Linked DNA regions of Homo sapiens: regions 2, 3, 4, 5, 6 and 7 are each linked to region 1. The links are contacts of gene promoters, found by promoter capture Hi-C in blood cells and fetal thymus (Javierre and others, 2016). All regions are on one chromosome and are shown on one strand. Each heading gives the region's core, a stretch centred on a gene start or on the middle of the fragment in contact. The rest is flanking DNA. Distances are from core to core; before and after follow the strand shown.

What was found. The method cuts DNA at HindIII sites, captures the fragments that hold promoters and counts their contacts. A CHiCAGO score of 5 or more calls a contact.
Region 2: a contact is called between a fragment that was not itself captured here and the fragment with the promoter of RBL2 in region 1, in 2 of 17 cell types (neutrophils and total CD4 T cells). The highest score is 7.4, in neutrophils.
Region 3: a contact is called between a fragment that was not itself captured here and the fragment with the promoter of RBL2 in region 1, in 4 of 17 cell types (neutrophils, monocytes, non-activated CD4 T cells and 1 more). The highest score is 12.0, in neutrophils.
Region 4: a contact is called between a fragment that was not itself captured here and the fragment with the promoter of RBL2 in region 1, in 7 of 17 cell types (neutrophils, monocytes, naive CD4 T cells and 4 more). The highest score is 19.2, in neutrophils.
Region 5: a contact is called between a fragment that was not itself captured here and the fragment with the promoter of RBL2 in region 1, in 5 of 17 cell types (neutrophils, monocytes, M2 macrophages and 2 more). The highest score is 10.3, in neutrophils.
Region 6: a contact is called between a fragment that was not itself captured here and the fragment with the promoter of RBL2 in region 1, in 7 of 17 cell types (neutrophils, naive CD8 T cells, total CD8 T cells and 4 more). The highest score is 10.3, in neutrophils.
Region 7: a fragment that was not itself captured here is called in contact with the fragment with the promoter of RBL2 in region 1 in 6 of 17 cell types (neutrophils, naive CD4 T cells, monocytes and 3 more); the score reaches 12.8 in neutrophils.

Annotation. Positions count from the first base shown.
Region 1 is chr16:53,433,204-53,435,746 of GRCh38, reverse strand. RBL2 (RB transcriptional corepressor like 2) reads right to left here and starts at 1,276. Exons shown (of 22, transcript NM_005611.4): 1 at 951-1,276. The coding sequence starts at 1,190. RefSeq lists an enhancer at 282-391 and a silencer at 1,002-1,221. The HindIII fragment of the contact is 5,814 bases long and covers 1-2,543 here.
Region 2 is chr16:53,686,290-53,688,832 of GRCh38, reverse strand. It overlaps RPGRIP1L (RPGRIP1 like), which reads left to right. Exons shown (of 27, transcript NM_015272.5): 5 at 868-970; 6 at 2,257-2,400. Among named protein-coding and RNA genes, the nearest start is that of RPGRIP1L, 16 kb to the left of the region's middle. The HindIII fragment of the contact is 8,993 bases long and covers 1-2,543 here.
Region 3 is chr16:53,188,448-53,190,990 of GRCh38, reverse strand. The region is part of intron 2 of CHD9 (chromodomain helicase DNA binding protein 9); the gene reads right to left. Among named protein-coding and RNA genes, the nearest start is that of CHD9, 130 kb to the right of the region's middle. The HindIII fragment of the contact is 1,385 bases long and covers 582-1,966 here.
Region 4 is chr16:53,210,163-53,212,705 of GRCh38, reverse strand. The region is part of intron 3 of CHD9 (chromodomain helicase DNA binding protein 9); the gene reads right to left. Among named protein-coding and RNA genes, the nearest start is that of CHD9, 160 kb to the right of the region's middle. The HindIII fragment of the contact is 7,899 bases long and covers 1-2,543 here.
Region 5 is chr16:53,230,574-53,233,116 of GRCh38, reverse strand. It overlaps CHD9 (chromodomain helicase DNA binding protein 9), which reads right to left. Exons shown (of 39, transcript NM_001308319.2): 9 at 1,612-1,698; 10 at 1,333-1,470. Among named protein-coding and RNA genes, the nearest start is that of CHD9, 180 kb to the right of the region's middle. The HindIII fragment of the contact is 169 bases long and covers 1,192-1,360 here.
Region 6 is chr16:53,247,848-53,250,390 of GRCh38, reverse strand. It overlaps CHD9 (chromodomain helicase DNA binding protein 9), which reads right to left. Exons shown (of 39, transcript NM_001308319.2): 17 at 325-520. Among named protein-coding and RNA genes, the nearest start is that of RBL2, 190 kb to the left of the region's middle. The HindIII fragment of the contact is 2,792 bases long and covers 1-2,543 here.
Region 7 is chr16:53,265,463-53,268,005 of GRCh38, reverse strand. CHD9 (chromodomain helicase DNA binding protein 9) reads right to left here. Exons shown (of 39, transcript NM_001308319.2): 21 at 516-712; 22 at 1-79. Among named protein-coding and RNA genes, the nearest start is that of RBL2, 170 kb to the left of the region's middle. The HindIII fragment of the contact is 3,841 bases long and covers 1-2,543 here.

The sequences.
Region 1 (2,543 bases), core at 27-2,526:
ACCTTGGTTAGGCTTTGCATCCTGGACCTATTTGCCCGACTCTTTCTACAAATTAATTATAAAACGACTTGAGAAATCAAATGGCCTCAGGTTTAAATGCCACACACACAGTCAAACAGCTGATAAACAATCCGTACTTCCGTGTCACTTCCCATTGGCCCATGAAGGGGAGGTGCATACAAAGCTGACACTCACTGGCTAGAATGGCCATTTTTCTCATCTGCAAGCCCTGTCCGAAGGCTGCGACCTAACACACCCGGATCGCAACAACAACAGGAGTCCTGTGCAATGCCCGGGGTGACCAAAAAGCCCTCGAGGTAGCCACAGTCCTGATCCTAGTGACAAATGGGGGCATGTGTCTACATCCGGGTCGGCGGAGGGCTCATTTCATCTGGCCTGGGGGGAAATGAGTATTAATTTGTTTACACAGACGTAAACACAGCCCAAAACGCATCAGCACGTTGACTCAAACGCCCGCAACGCCAGGGCAAAGGCAATTTGGTTAACAGGGGGAAGCGAACAGACGGAGACGCCTGGAGACCCAGGTGCCACAACCCGGTTAATCGCGGTGCAAATAAGGGCAAGTCCCCTCCCCTTGTCCGTGTGGTCTTGACAACGACACTAGTTCATTCTACTAACAAGGCGGGCGGGGGGTCAGATGGGCCACACACACCCATTTTCCTCAACGGGACCCCAGCGCGATCTCAGCCTTGCTGTGCTACTTTAGGGCAAGACGCGTTCCCCATTCGGAAGCCGCAGGAAAGCGCGGCGAGAGCGGGTTAGCCCTCGGAGCGGCTAAGAGCCTCGGAATAGCGCAGAGGAAGTCCCCACCCCTCTCGGGGCTGGGAGCCCGCAACCCGCCCGAGAGTCTCTCGAGGCGCGCGACGCGGCTCGGAAGGCACCGGTTCACGCCAACTAGGCCGGAAGCGCCCCTCCGCCCGCGAGCGCACCTCCAGCGTGTAGCTTTCGCTCATGCTGCGGTAGCTGTCCCAGGCCTCGGCCCGCGCCGCCTCGTCCATGTTGAGGCGGCTGCACAGCTCGTCGAACCGCTGCTGGATCTGAGGGGTGGGCGACTCGGCAGGCGGCGCGGCGTCTTCCGCCTCGCCGTCGTCCTCCTCCTCCTCATCCGAGGCTGCCGCCGCCGGAGGGGGAGGCGGGGGCGGTGGCGACTGGTCACCTCCCGACGGCATAGCGCACCCCTGGGCGGCCGGACCTCAGGTGAGGTGAGGGCCCGGGCCCGCAGCCATTCAAACGGCGAAGCGCCCGCCCGTCCGCCGCCCGCACCGCGCCTGCGCCGCCGCAAACGACGCTGACCGCCTGCAGGCACCCGTAGTCTTGAGCACGGGCTGCTGGGAAACGTAGTCCAGGCCGGCGGTTCAAGGGGGCCAAAAATCATGTTTAAAAAAATTAGCTCCCCTAGTTTCACCAGGGGTGAAATAAAAGCACCTTCCCCGCATTTTAAACACGTACCTCCCCACCGTGAGAACATTCAACAGGGCTGTACTGACGAGAAAATGTCCAAAAGACACTGACGTGTGAAGGTTTCGTATCCAGGCTGTTCCCAGAAGTAAAACTTCCTCATCGCCTGGATATCCTTATCTAAAAAATAGGGATAATAGCAAGGGCCTGTCTCTGTACGTTCACGAAACTGCCTTTGCAAAAATCCTAACAGTGAGAAAGTTATGACAGTGCAAGGGATCTGACCTAAATGACTCCACGCTTCTCACTTCCGAGCTGCCCTTGTTCATTCCTGGGCGAAGACCTAACTAACTACAGGAGGAATTTAATTTCTAATTTCACTTTGAAACAAAGATTGTAACAGTCCTTTCCAAAAACAAACCCCATTCTTGCCTGGGGATCAGTCTGCCTTTGTAGAACTAACAAATTAGCCACAAGATTAGAAATTATGATTTAGGAGGCTTGCAGCCAGAGGCTATAAGATTCCTGACCTCCCCAATTGCTCTCAGGGATAACATCACTATTGTAAAACCTAAGATTGGTGCTGGAGATACTTTTCAGACCGCGCATTCCGATGCACTAGCTGGCGCCACTCAGACCATAATCTGGCTCAACAAGTTCTGCAATTCCACTCAGTAACAGAAGACAGCAAGAGCCCACTTCAACCCCCTGTGATTTCACCTCCCACCTGACAAATTAGCATTCGCCAATCCCTGGCCCCCTACCCGCCAAGTCATTCTTTAAAAACCCCAGTCTCCGAATTTTCTGGTAGGCTGATTTGAATAACCAAACTCCTGTCTGCCGTTCAGCTGGCTCTGCGTGAATTAAACTTTTTTTTTTTTTTTGAGACAGAGTCTGGCTCTGTTGCCCAGGCTGGAGTGTAGTGGCACGATCTCGGCTCACTGCAACCTCCGCCTCCTGGGTTCAAGCGATTCTCCTGCCTCAGCCTCCTGAGTATCTGGGATTACAGGTGTGCGCCACCGCACCCAGCTAATTTTTGTATTTTCAGTACAGGCAGGGTTTCACCATGTTGGCCAGGCTGGTCTCGAACTCCTGACCTCAAGTGATCCACCCACCTCGGCCTC
Region 2 (2,543 bases), core at 28-2,527, 250 kb before region 1:
GAAAGAGCGAGTAATAGTTCCATTGTTCTAGTTAAAATTCTCTTTTTTCTTTATTTAAATTTTCTCTTTACTGAGAATATGCAGAGCAATGAAATCTCACGTTTAAAAAGTTAACTTTTCTAAAGGAATAAATTTGTTGTTTTGTTCTCCATTTAAAAACCTTAATCATCTGTGATGCTTTATCTACCTTAAACTCTAATATTTAGTTATTCTATAAATGTAAAATAACTCACATAATTAAGAATATGCCTTATTTTAAACAATGGGACTGTCTTTGTAAAATTCTACAGATTTCTATAAGAAAAATTATATTTTAAGTGCAGCAGGGAAATGTTTTATTTAAAGGAATTCTTGCGATGATCCATTCTCAAAGTACCTTTTCATAAATAGGGATTTTGTTATTGGGGTGGAATAAATCAAAATACAGAAAACATTTTTACTTAAACATTTAAGGGCAAGGAATATGAATAATTTAAAAATTTAAAAAACCCTTATCACAAACACTGGGGAAAAAATCAGGTTTTTATAACCTATTTACATTGTTAAAACTTGAATAGAAGACTGATTTATTTCAGAAATTACTGCAGGAGTCTAAATCTTAAGTTGAATAAAATTATTTCTAGGTAATTTGATTTCTACAGTAGATTTGTAAAATGAGCAATACTTGCTGCTGTGTTTTATTTAATGCCTACTGGTGGCTGAGATCACATATTCCCTTTGGCAGTGTATTTATAATTCTGTGTACTATAAAACACATACCTCTTAATACTTAAGAGATTTTATTATAAATATCCTTATTATAGCAAATCAAAGATCCTTCTTTTCTAACTTCAATTCTGTAATCATATTTTATTACTTTGTTTTTAGGTATAAAATTCCAAGATGCAGATGTAGCAGAAACTCCACATCCCATGTTTACAAAATATGGCAACAGTTTACTTGAAGAAGCCAGAGGAGAAATAAGAAATTTGTATGTGTTCTTTTTTGTGGTAATTTGAGAACTTTGGTTATTGATAATGTCTTTTTTTTTTATCCTTCCCTTTCCTTTATTTATATGTAAACAGTTTGCTCCACTGAAATACAGCTATGTTCTGTAGGGTAACAACAGATGTTATATAACATGTTCTCAGAAAAAGGAAAATGAAGAACTTATCCAGCTGCCTCAATGGAAGGATTTATGTAATAGTCTTCTTTATTATAATTTGACCCTCAGAGGAATGGCATAAAGTCCAGTCAGTTAGAATAGTGTAAGATTTAGAGGCAACATTTTTATTCCCAGAAAATCACAGGTAATTTTTTTAGATCCTGAATCAATTAGCCCTTTTCTTGGTTAAAAAAAATAAATAAAGAATTGGGGAGTGGCATAAAAGTTTGGAGTTATCAGATACATATGGATTTCAGATTTTGTTTTCGTATGATTCTATGGCACTGCATTCTTCATCATATGGTTTCAAAAAAGTTACTTCTGCCACATTTAGCTTACTTTTCTAGTTAATCCAAGCCTCATGGTTTCAGTGTCTGTGAGTTACACAAATGAAGGTAAGGTTCCACTTTAAGCCTTCACCTGGATCATCAAAAAGTAACAATACTTCATGAGAAAAGAAAACATGGCGCACAGTATCATACTTAAGATAGTTGCTTAAGAATAATATGGTCTTCAAATGTTTCCTTTTGAATATTTTAAATAGCAGCTACAGTAATGATTAGCCTGCAGGAAAATAAAAGACTAGACATAACCTTGTTACCTGATGATCACCTGAAAAGCCAACGTTTATACCGGTTCCTGAGACTCATTACAGTGTGATGCTGCCAGACATGATAGAGATAAATGCATGCCAGAGACCACTAAGTTATATTTGGCAAATTTCCTGCCCTCTCTCTCTGAAGTGTTAATTTGGGTGTTATAAGCAGATGTGCATATATGAAAGAACAAAGACATATAAATATTCTGAAGACCAGATTGTGGCATACATAGTAGGTGTACTCCACAATAAATACTTACTCAATTGAATCAAACCAAAGTCCAATCCATTGCCTAGGACATTATCTTATAAAAAGCAGTATCTTGCATTGTTCCGTATGTATTTCCAAGTCATCACATTTAATCTGCTACTATTTCACTGTGTGCAGAGGCACTTAAGCTAAATTTTTTAACTTCTGCTTGCTCTTTTTCATGAAGAACTTTCTTTGCACTGATCTTAACTATTGAAAAATTTTCCTCAAACTACAAGTTCTTACAGAGGCTCTTTATTTCAGAGAAAACGTTATTCAGTCACAAAGAGGCCAGATAGAGGAGTTAGAGCACTTGGCTGAGATCCTGAAAACTCAGTTGAGGAGAAAAGAAAATGAAATTGAGTTATCTCTTCTTCAGCTTCGAGAACAGCAAGCTACAGATCAAAGGTATGTTAAAACAGAAATATCACTTTGATAAGGTCAAAATTAGTTTAAAATACTTTATCATGTGCCATAAAAGGATAAGTTTATCTAGTCTATTTAAAAATCATGTTTTTACTTAACATTCTTCATATAAGCCTATGCTCGAC
Region 3 (2,543 bases), core at 25-2,524, 240 kb after region 1:
ACACTTAAAATGGGTACATTTCATTGTATGTAAATTATGCCTCAATAAAATTGATTTTAAAATGTACTTACTAAGTGGACATATGTAACAGGATTAATTTTACCCTGACTTATCTGTTTAATAACTCCTCTTCTTTTATTAGTTTTAATTATTTGACTACAAAGTAAAATTAGATTATATTATACTAATTTCTATAATTTATGCTGGCCTGTTGTTAGTGGCAGATACTCAATTTAGAAAATATTTGCTAATAACCTATTACATAGAGGTACAAAAAACAGACTCTCTGGGAAACACACCAGAGATATGGGGAAAATGGTAAATCAATATAAACTAGAGGGGCAAGGAAGACTTGAAAGTGTTCTCAGAAAATAAGCTAATTTTTATAATGATGAGATAATAAGATATTCAATGGAGGAAGATAAGCATAACCAAAGGCATAACAAGTGAAATAACTGTGTAGAAAAAAATTTCGTAAGTTATATTCCAGGAAATTGTGAGATATTAAAACACTCAGATTCATGTAAAATTCTGAGATGCAGCCTTGTATTTCCTCCTCCTTGGCGCGTCATGATAAAGCTTAACATATTAAAGGCTCATTCTCAGAGTCCACAGAGAACGAGCAGAAAATGAGCTTGAATGGATTGGGTAGCAAAACTATAAAATTTTTGATTCTCAGTGTAGACAAAAACAACTCTTTTATATCTTTCAAAACCCATTTTATTTCTTCTAGTATAAAACGTTTTTAATTGAGAAAGAAATTAGGTTTGTCTCCACCCACCTCTACCATCTGGAAAGAAAGCCATATTGTAAACTGCTATAATCTTACAAATAGAGAGATTTAATCAGTAATTTGCTCTTCAATGGGAAAGGTGATATTAAGAATAATTTGGGGACCAATGTGGACCAGAAGTTTGTTGGTTCTGTTCTAGTTTGGGAGGTAGGGTTGGGGGAAAATCATGGTTCAATGTGACATTTTTAGAATACTCAAAAGTATTTTAAATAAGAGGTTGAGGGATAATAAATGTAATATTAAAGTGTATCCCCATAATATAGATGCAAAAAAACAAGTACAAAAGTACTTAAATGATTACAGGTCACATATACTGTCAACATTAGCTTTCCGTCTATTTTGTTGATCTCAAATATTTGAATAAAATATATCTTCATTTATACCTCCGCTATCATCCTGTAAGACATGGAAAAAATTGCACAGTCTACAAATGCACTAAAGTCTGATAAAAGGCTATAAAAATATTTTGCTAATTGTTCAGTTTAATGCAATTATCCAGGATGACCCATTAAAGCCAAAATACAAACACAGCAAACGCTAGTACAAATCATAAATTCAAACTGCAGAGCAGTATCTTTTGCTAATACAGACACAAATATTTTCAACAAAATAATAGCAAACCTAATCCAGGAAAAAAAAATATATATAATACATATATATATAGAGAGAGAGATACATACCATCGACAAGTAGGATTTATTTTAGGAGTGCAAGGCTAATATCTGAAAATCATATCAACAGAATAAAGAATAAAAACTAAAATGATCACAAATAAAAACTAAATGCGATGAAGAAAAAGAATCTGACAAAGTTTCAACATCTTTTCATGATAAAAACACAAAACAAACTAGGAATAAAAAGAAACCTTTGCAACATAATAAAAGGCATGTATGAAAAACCCACAACTAACATCATACAGTACTTAATGGTGAAAGACTGAATGCTTTTCCCTAAGATCATGAACAAGACAAGGTTATCTACTCTTGTCACTTCTATTCAACACTGTTCTGAAAATTCTAGTCAGGGCAATTAGAAGAGAAAAAGCAATAAAAAACACCTAGATTGGAAAGCAAGAAATAAAATTATCTTTAATCTTTATATTTGGAAGCTACGATCTTTCAAATGAAAAAAAAACCCAAGGAAATCTGCAAATCAAATATCTGATGTCAAGCTTTTTCAATTTAAAAAACCTGATAAGAGATTTGTATCTAAAATATATAAATAACTCCTACAAATCAGTAACAAAAATAAGTAACCCAATTTAAATATGGGCAAAAGATCTGAATAGACATTTCTCTAAAAAAAAGATACAATGCTAGGCACGGTAGCTCACGCCTGTAATCCCAGCACCTTGGGAGGCTGAGGTGGGCAGATCACCTGAGGTCAAGAGTTTGACACCAGCCTTGCCAACAAGATGAAACTAAAAATACAAAAAATTAGCCAGGCGTGGTGGCAAGCACCTGTAATTGCAGCTACTCGGGAGGCTGAGGCAGAAGAACTGCTTGAACCTGGGAGGTGGAGGTTGCAGTGAGCCGAGATGGTACCACTGCACGCCAGCTTCCATCTCAAAAAAAAAAAAAAAAAAAAAAAAAAAAGGTAATGACCAGTAAGCCCATGAAAAAATGCTCAGTATCATTAGCAATCAGGGAAATGCAAATCAAAACCACAACAAGACATTACTTTATACCAAGATGGCTACAATAAAAAAAAGACATAAAAACAGGCATTGGCAAGTATGGAAAAATTGGAA
Region 4 (2,543 bases), core at 17-2,516, 220 kb after region 1:
ATCACACTGTATGCCCACTCTAACTCACAGAATTGTAAAAATGAAATGAGACTCTAAGAAAGTGCTCCGAAAAGGACATTCTATTCTTTGCATTGGAAAAAAAGTTAATCTGTAAAAGTGACAACGAAAAGGTTTCAAGCACATTAGCAAGCAGGGGCAGTATTGCTTTTCTTCAGATTAGTCTTCCTAGATTACATCAAATCACATATATGGGTTAAATAAACACCAACCCTGATGACATCAACCATAAATTATTGTTTACAAATTTAGTTACTTTAAAAAAAATTTTTTTTTTTTTTTTGAGATGGAATCTCGCTCTGTCAGCCAGGCTGGAGTGCAGTGGTGCAATCTCGGCTCACTGCAACCTCTGCCTCCCAGGTTCACGCCATTCTCCTGCCTCAGCCTCCCGAGTAGCTGGCACTACAGGTGCCCACCACCACGCCTGGCTAATTTTGTTTTTGTATTTTTAGTAGAGATGGGGTTTCACGGTGTTAGCTAGGATGGTCTCAATCTCCTGACCTCGTGATCCGCCCGCCTCGGCCTCCCAAAGTGCTGGGATTACAGGCATGAGCCACCGCGCCCAGCCATTAATTTTAAAATTTATATTTTACACTGCTGTTGATTAAGTTGCACTGCTTTCCAAATTAACTAATATCAATAATTTGGTATTAGGAACAGCCCAATTGTCCTAAAATTAATAGAAAAATAAAAAATTTTAAATGAGATGTTTAATTATAAAATGGTGCTAGTTGAAATGATGCAACTGAACTTTACTTAAATGATTCTTCACTCAAAAATTTAAAACTCACCAAATTCAAAATTACAAAGTATAGTGGCTTATTGGAAAGCACAGTAATGAAATATTTCATTGGCTAATACTGGAATTCTGGATTGTATATGAATTTCATTTATTCCAACTATGCCTTTTCCTCCAACATGACAATAATTTTTGTCTTTGACTGATATAAATGATTGACACTGTTTTACTCTAACAGCTTAGTAATACATATGCAAACTTCAATACTACTTATCTGCCTGCGACTTATAAATTCTTCTATCAATTCACTTATCTGCCTGCGACTTATAAATTCTTCTATCAAAAAGGCCTATATTTTCAACAATTTTTCTTTTCTAGCAACTACTCAATATTTTACCATGTATTTAGCCAAAACAAAAAAAAATTTCTAGTACAATTCTTATCGATTTTGTTTTCTAGAATTTGCTACCTCTAGAAAAATTGGTCAATGTTGTGCAATATTAAAATAATTTACTATGAATAATTTACCTACTCCTAACAAAAACACAGATATCACAAAACTAGTCAGTACTCCGCTTCAGTGTTACTACTCCCCTTACTATATTAATTCACTTTTCTAAAAATCTGTGTTTCTAATTTAATTATTTCTAGTTATCTCTTATGTACAATGTTTTTTCTTAAACTAGATTTACTTCTGGTATCTTTTGCCTTTAGCTGTTCCTTCCCAAGTTTGAGGCAAGTAACGGTTAGTGTAACTTTTAAAAGTTTATCAACCAATTTCCTCATTTTATGCATTGTTTTTCAAAACGTTACTCTTCCAAATAGTATTCTACTCTGTCTAGATCTCTGAACAAGTTAAAACTGGAAACCCTTAATTATATTAAATTTTGGTTCAGCAAAAGACTAAATATGGGATTTCCTGAATTAAAACTGGGCAGAGCTTTGGAAAAATAAGTTACTTTCATACCTAAAACCTCTAAAAAAACAATAAAAGAAGTAGAAATCTTTCAAATTTCATTTTAGCTGTCTGCAAGTAAAATGCAAAATCAATATGATTATTAATCTATTATAACAAGAGAGCCCATATTATTTAATCGTTTGGACCTGAATGACATAAGGACCAAACTAAATAATTTGGCGGTTACATTTAAAATGCTAAGAATTCATTTGATTTATAAAATTGCATTAGTTCTAAATATCTATATAATATATCAACAATTTCTGAGCAAATGAAGATTTTCACAATAAAGACATTCTTTATTGCGGACTTTTTGTGAAAAAGAGAAAAGTTAGATTGACCCCTTTATGTCAAATTTCCACATGAAGTCCTCAAAAATAACCAGTCCTGAAAAAACAATTCTAAACTATGTTGGCTTAGTTATGCTTACCCTTGCATGCTAAGCAAATACACCTATAAAGCAAATTATAACATTTACTGTATTTTATTTTTTGAAAATATTTTGGATAAGCAGTAAAATACATAGGATTAATATATCCTCCTAGAGCAATTCTTTGTCCTTATAATTCTCTTGGAGCATTAATCCTCACCTGGCCTCTTTATTACGTAAAGTAAATCAGACTATATGGAAGTAAATCAGTAAGAACTGGCAACCACTTATTGTTGATTTATATGGTATTAGTGTTTTTTTTTTTTTTTTGCCATTTCATTCAGTCCAAAGTTGTGGTTTTATTAAGAAAATATTACATTTCATGTTTCCAAACTATGAGTGCTCAGTGAGGCACAAGTACAACCAAGAGAAAAAGAATCTTATAAAGAATTTCAATG
Region 5 (2,543 bases), core at 27-2,526, 200 kb after region 1:
GGATCTGATGCTATATCTGGGTAGATGGTGAATTAGAGCTGGGTAGAACTGAATTAGAGGACAGCCAGCTGGCATCCACTGCAGAACTGACTGCTTGCTGGTCGGAAGAATTCCCCACATATTTTGGGGTTACAGAAGTCTTTTGTGTTGATTGTTGTGTTACCCTGAGAGCAGAGGAAAAACACAGTTCAAGAAAGCTTTTCTTAAACATCAGGTAAGTGTATAGTAATTGTACATGGAAAACAAAACAGGCTATCAGTATACTGAGAACAGGACTGGTTATTGAAGCTCTGCTGCTACTTAATACAGGTGTTTGCTAAAGAAAACATTTTTTAAGTGATAGCCAATGAACATTAAAATAATTAACATATATTTTAACTGCTGCTTAAAATAATTTCTGCATTAGATCATATTCTGTATAGCTTCTTTTCAGCAATCCAATCACTATTAATGATTCATTAGTTCGGGTCAGGGAAAAATTTCATTTACAGAATCTCAAAATACTTTACGTGACTTATATGCTATTTTATTTAACAGCAGTATACTGGCAAAAAGAAAGGAAAACAAAACAAAACAAAAAAACACCTCCTACATTATTTAACCATGACAGACTAGCCCTGTTGTCATCAATTTTACATTAATTAAGGGGATTAATTCTATTGGCTGAGCCCCCTTTACCAAGGCCTATAACATATATCTAAGGCATCTCTAATTTTTGAAAAGCTCCAGAAGAGATTCTGATATGCACCTTTGACTGAGAATCACTTATCTAAAGACATAGCTTATTCAGTGAGGCTTAATATTACCACTAAGGCATAGACCCCACCCCAAAAGAAAATCTTTCTCTTCTACTACATTCCTTGACTCATTCCTCTCTGAATTAGGTGACGCTTCTGTTTCCTGGTTCAAGGAATAGCATTTAGAAGGTAAAAGGAATGGGGGTAAACTGATATGCTTTTGTTAACAGCCTACGGACATTACTGGAAAATAAAGTAAGAAGACCAGAAAATAATACTAGGAAGATCAGAAAATAGTTATTATAAAACAATATGATCTCTTCTATGGAATATTTAATTCATTTCCTTCTCTTACTTCACATCTCCATGTTTATCAGGGCAGCTTTCCTCACTCTCGTGCTAATCAAAAAGGAATCTGCTCCTGTCTTTTCACATATAAACTCCCTCTTAAGCTTTGGCTCCCAAAACTAGACTCACATAGTAACAAGCCTGTTTAAAAGAAATGAAAGTAAAACATTATATAATTATTAGCAATATCATAACTTACATAAACAAGTGCTAAGATTTTATAAAGCTGTCTAAAACAGGTTCTTACCAAACGTCTTGTGTCAGGCCTTGAAGCTTGCAGTTGTTCAAACTCTTCTATTTTTGCAAGATCTACATCTTCTTTTAGTTCCCAAGTACTATCTTCATATGGCAATGAGCACCATTTTACTAAGTAGTAAATAACAGGCTGTAAAAAAATTTTTTCATTTACCATTTTGAAAAAGACACTAGTAAGAAATAGTTTAAACAGAGAATAAAGTACTAGGTCTTAATACTTGGAAAGTTTCAGATTTTTCTTACTTAAAAAATCTTTTTACCATATATTTACCTCACCAGTATCCTTATCTTCACAAAAAGAGACTTCTAATACTCTGTCTACTTCAACGTAGTCTGGGTTAAATGGTTCTTCTTCCATCTAAAATTAAAAGGTAACTTAATTGACATCTGACAAAGAACTGGAATGATAAAAGTAAGGACGAATTTACTAGCATTTCACTATAGACCTTGTAAGTTTGATTTCAGTTAAATGTCCAATAAATGGAATTCTTCCATTTTCATTTCCAAATGATAGCTAGGATAACATGAAAAATGTTATAAATAATAAAACCAAATAGTACTAAAATATAAGGTACTCTAGAAGATACGTGCTTTAAAAAATGCCTGAAAGCAGCCTCTATACCTTTCCTTTACGCTTTTCCTCAGGTTGCAAGAGTTGAAGACCATGCATCATCCCATTGAATGCTCATTTCTGTTGTCTCACACACCCTTTATCTTTACCTGATGGTTCTTGTGCTCAAGACCCACTTATTGAGCTGACTGCAAACTTTACTGAGGTACCTCAAACTCATTTGCACTCATTTACTCTTCAACCCATACCTCCTCCTGCATTTTCTAATGGTTAATGGTAACAGAGCTTCCTCTCCATAGCCCACGCTCAGTGACACAAGCCAGAAATGAAGAAGTCATTTTAGATTCCTTCTTTTTCTTTACCCTCTACATCGAGTAAGTCACCAATTCGTACAGACTCTATTTTAACTCTGAGATTGGTTCCTCCTTCTTCATCCTCACTTCTTACTTGAATCTTTAAAATAACCCCAACTACTGTCTCACCTCCCCTTTAATGTTTTTCACATTGTCCCCAGAGTAATCTTTCTCAAATATAAATCTTATATATCGCTCCTTTACTTAAAATTCTTCACCGACTCTCCCCTAATTAGTCTTAATGAAAATTTAATGATTATTACTTAATTCTAAAATCTT
Region 6 (2,543 bases), core at 23-2,522, 190 kb after region 1:
GGTTCAAGACCAGCCTGGGCAACATAGTGAGACCTCATATCTAAATAAACAAACAAAAAGTACTGTACTCAATTAGGTATAATTTTTTATAAGCTAGTAAGACATATAAGTTAGTGAGACATATAAAAAAGTAAAAATTTTTGTCATTATAGTTTTTATCATAACAATTAAAATAACTTCACCTATTTTATTTGGCACAGATATTTCATAGAGAAACATACATTAGTTTGTCCAGATAAAAATAAAAGATGTGGATTACCAAAAAGTTACACAATTTTACTTTTTTAAAAAATGCATTTTTTGTTAGCCAAGGAAATTATTTACCTGAAGATCATTCTGAGGATTCCAATCAGAATCAAAAATTATACATGTATCAGCTGCAGTTAAGTTGATGCCCAACCCACCAGCTCGGGTACACAGGAGAAAAACAAATCTATCTGAATCAGGTTTACTAAATCTATCTATAGCAGCTTGCCGAAGATTTCCTCTGACTCTGCCATCAATTCGCTCATATAAGTATCTATGGAATGAAATGGAATAAATTTACATAAATAAGTATAATAAAACTGAAGACATATTCTATCAAATGTAAAGTCAGTTTTCCTGCAGCATTATGTTTTCTCTAAAATTAAGAAGCAATATCATCTCAAGTAGTTTCTGTGACTTTATACTTTTTGGTGTTGGTGTTAAGGAGAAAACAAAAACTAATATAAAGATACAAAACCTCTGAATTCCCAGATGTATAGGTAAAAGAACACTACAATAAATTTTATTTCAGAAGTTAGAATAACAAAAGGCAGTCTATAAAAACTGCTTTGCTGATCTCATCATAATATATTACTTTTTTGCAAGAAATACTTTCACAAAAACTTTATACAAGAAGGCTATGAATGTTTCTTTTGTCCTTAATCCATGTTACTCTCGACTGACATACTTGCTTCTATATTGCAATCTATTAAGAATACACTGGAATGCTGTTGAATTCTTTATAGTCATTACTGCAAAGTGATTATCTTTTAACTTCCTTTATCCTTCCCCATTTAACATATACAAAACTCAAAAACTGCAAGACATCAAATAAAAATAAAATACATAAAAATTTAGGAGCTTGGACTCTAAGTGGTATACATATGACATCTGACACACTTCTACATATGATTTACTAGAGTTTTAGCAGTCTCTCCGCGGTTATCTCTGGTACCTGCAAAATGGAGACTTCTAATAATGTTTGTTATGACAATAAAGAAACTCTGAATTTTCCATGAAATTTATTACAACAGAAATTGATAAGTAATTTTATCTGTATGAAGTTCTCCACGTAAGAAGATTAAAAAAATATAAGAATTACTATTTTTGGGAACAGTGCAACTTAATGTTCGTATCACATGATATAAAATTGAGAATACTATACATTTTAAAATGAGGCTAAAGAGTAGGACATTGACAATAAAAATGGAACTAGAAATAAAAATGAAAAATAAAAATGAACTACATAATCTCTAATAATATAAATCAGTATAGACCTTTACTTATCTATATGGGTTAAAATCTATTGAATTAAAATCTGCAAGCCAGGTGCAGTGGCTCATGCCTATAATCCTAGCACTTTGGGAGGCTGAGGTGGAAGAACTGCTTGAGCCCAGGAGTTTGAGATCGGCTTGGGCAACACAGTGAGACCCTGTCTCTACCCAAAATAAATTAGCTGGGTGTGGTAGTGCATGCTTGTAGTCCCAGCTTCCTGGGAGGCTGAGGTGGGAGGATTGCTTGAGCTCAGGAGTTCGAGGTTGCAATGAGCTATGATCACACCACTGCACAACACCCTGGGCAACACAGTGAGACCCTGTCTTCAAAAAAAAAAAAAAAACAAAAAAAAAAACCAACAAAGCAAAAACAAACAAAAAAAAATAAAATAAAAAATCTATAGCTGAAATTTCTGATTCTCTTTTACATTAATATGTTACTATCAGATGGAATCCTAATGGTCTGATAAAATATCCTACGATAATTAGCCTATTATAGCCTAAATACTGATTAGACAATTTTTTTTTTTTTTTTGAGACAGAGTTTCGCTCTGTCGCCCAGGCTGGAGTGCAGAGGCACGATCTCGGCTCACTGCAAGCTCTGCCTCCCAGGTTCACGCCATTCTCCCGCCTCAGCCTCCCGAATAGCTGGGACTACAGGTGCCCGCCATCATGCCCGGCTGATTTTTTGTATTTTTTTTTTTTTTAGTAGAGACGTGGGTTTCACCGTGTAAGCCACGATGGTCTTGATCTCCTGACCTCATGATCCGCCTGCCTCAGGCTCCCAAAGTGCTGGGATTACAGACGTGAGCCACCGCGCCCGGCCTGATTAGACAATATTTAACACTATCTTATTGTGATGTACCAATAAACAAAACAAAACAAAAAACCCACATTGAAACAAATCAGAAAAAATTAAAGCATGAACAAATTTTATATAGTATATAATAAGAATAAAAGTCCCACAACTTAAGGCTCTAATTATAACAATGAAATAGATCCAAAGTTCTTGAATCACTTTTT
Region 7 (2,543 bases), core at 15-2,514, 170 kb after region 1:
GCAAATTATCTCTACATCGTGTTCATTTAGCTGCCTTTTGAAACGGCCATGAGATAGAATCTCTCTCCATCGGCCCCACCTGGTTAAAAAAGGTATAGTTACATTGATATTGAGTCAAGTTCTAGAGAAAAATATTAACTCATAGATAAAAGGAATGAAAAACTTTAAAAAATTGTCATTTTTGCTAATTAAGTCTTCCCTACCCATGCATAGAATGTAGAGGAATGGTATAGTAATTTCTAGTATATTTTATTCAGTAATGGATAACATCTAATTTGTATTACTGAATATGCGAATTTAAGGACAAGAAGTTTGACTTTAGTGATACTTTGAAAATTTAAATACTTGAGGATAATCTCATCATTCTGCTCTTAAATATATGCTAAAAATAGAGTACTTTAAAAGTAAATTTTAATGATTCTAAGAAGATAAAAAATATACTCAAAACCAGTATATATTTTCTGTAACATTACATACCAGACTACTTAGAGCAAACATTAAAAACAATGTTTTACCCATAAACTAGCAGGTTTTTCTCAACTCTAAAGCATTCAGTTCTTCCATAGCCATTGGAACGGTCACAGGGTCTCCGGAGTTTGGGCTTTTCATCTCCTTCACTTTCAGCTTCAGATAATTCAGCCAATTCATCTTTTGTGGCACTAAAAGGTCTTGTTTGCTTCCTAATTCTTGGAGTGTCAATAACCAAGCTGTTCTGTAAAACAGAACTGCTATTACCTGAAGGTACTTTTATGATTTTGCTTACAACAGTGTTCTACATTTTTACCTTATACAAACAATAATTACAGAAACACAGACAAAAAGAAACAACTAACAATTTCACCAACCTATTCAGTCAACTTAGAATTGCTTATATTCCTTTAGAATTCTTACTACCACACATGTAAAATTTTATGACATTATAGTCATAGGATAAAAAGAACTTGATATTTTGTATATTAATATAACATTATTGTAATCATAAAAATATTTTAAACTGAATTTATGCCTTATAATTTTTCTTTACCTAATTCATAATTTAGATTGTTCTTAATTTTTAAAATAAATAATGCTAAAGTAAATCTTTGTGGCTTAAGTTTATTCTAAAGGTAAATTCAAAAGAAGGGAAGTATCCAGAAATGGAAATACTGGTCAAAGGTTATGAATATTTTACAGCGCTTTCCAAAAGACTTAATACAAAGAAAGCAAGGCAGTTAATTGCATCAACCTCAGTATGTTCGATTCAGTTTAATTCATTCAAAACAATTTATGTTAACATACTTTTTATTTTTATTGAGAAACTTCTCTAAGCTAGGCACTATGTTATGGGCTGTGGTATAATGATGAATAAGGCTGTTTCTACTCATAAGGAATCCAAAGTTTTAGTTACACGGACAAATGTGTCACTAAACAAATGCTATTTGGGATGAAATTTTTTATGATATAAGAGGTATCACAGTCAGAGAAAATGTCACAAAGTAGTGATACTAGAAAGACTTCTTAAAGTATTAGAAGTAGTTTGCCAGGCAGTGAGGGAAGAGATAGCATTACAAGTAGAGGAAAGAGCAAGGGACCTGAAGTGGTATCAGATTTTCAGGAAATGCTTATGTCCTAGAGCAGGAGAGGACAAATGGTAGGAGAGAAGGCAGGGACCAGACCATAAAGGTCCTGGTATGCCATAATATGTATGGAATGCATTATATTTAAGGGGCATGTGATGTCCTATGACAGGTGATGTTAACTTTTGCCAAGTTTCTCCACTGTGAAGTTACTAGTTTTCCTTTTGGAATTAATATGTATTTTGGAAGATATACTTTGAAGACACATAAATATGTTGTGTCTCCTTAAACTTTTACCCACTAATTTTAGAATTCACTGATGGATCTTGTATGCTACAATTATTACTGCAGTTGATTCATGGTGATTTTTTATTTCCTTCATTCCTTCTACATTTATTAAATGGAATTCTTCCGTAAGAAAGAGTTGTCCCTTTTCCTCTTTTTCCCCTTCCCAGTTTCCTTAAAAAAAAAAACAAAAAACTAATTGTATTTTTTTCTTAATTTTCAAATGTCTTTTTCCCCAAATCTTTTGAGATTTGATACAATTTTGATCTACTTATATTAGCTTTTATGTAATAGAAACATTAACTTTCATACACATGTCTGCTACAAATAGTGTCACCAGTCTGACTGCACTTTCATTTTTCCATTACATAATTCTGTCTTGTATAGTTAAATATGCCAATCACTTCCTTTGTAATTTCTAATTTAGAATGTTTTCCCACCCAAATATTTGTGAAAAGAAATCTAATTTCTATTTTTCATGTTTTGATTAAAAAACACTTAAAAATCTTTTATCACAAATTAGAGTTTACTTGGTATAGAGCATAGGATTATAACGCTCTTCCCAAATGCTAATCCAATATCCTAATCACCATTTATTAAATCATCTTTCTTTAGCACTATTTGTATATTTCATAAACTTATACTTTGATCTTTTTCTGTTGTTATCCCATTCTTTGCTTGGTATCTTTCTGTCAGTACCAT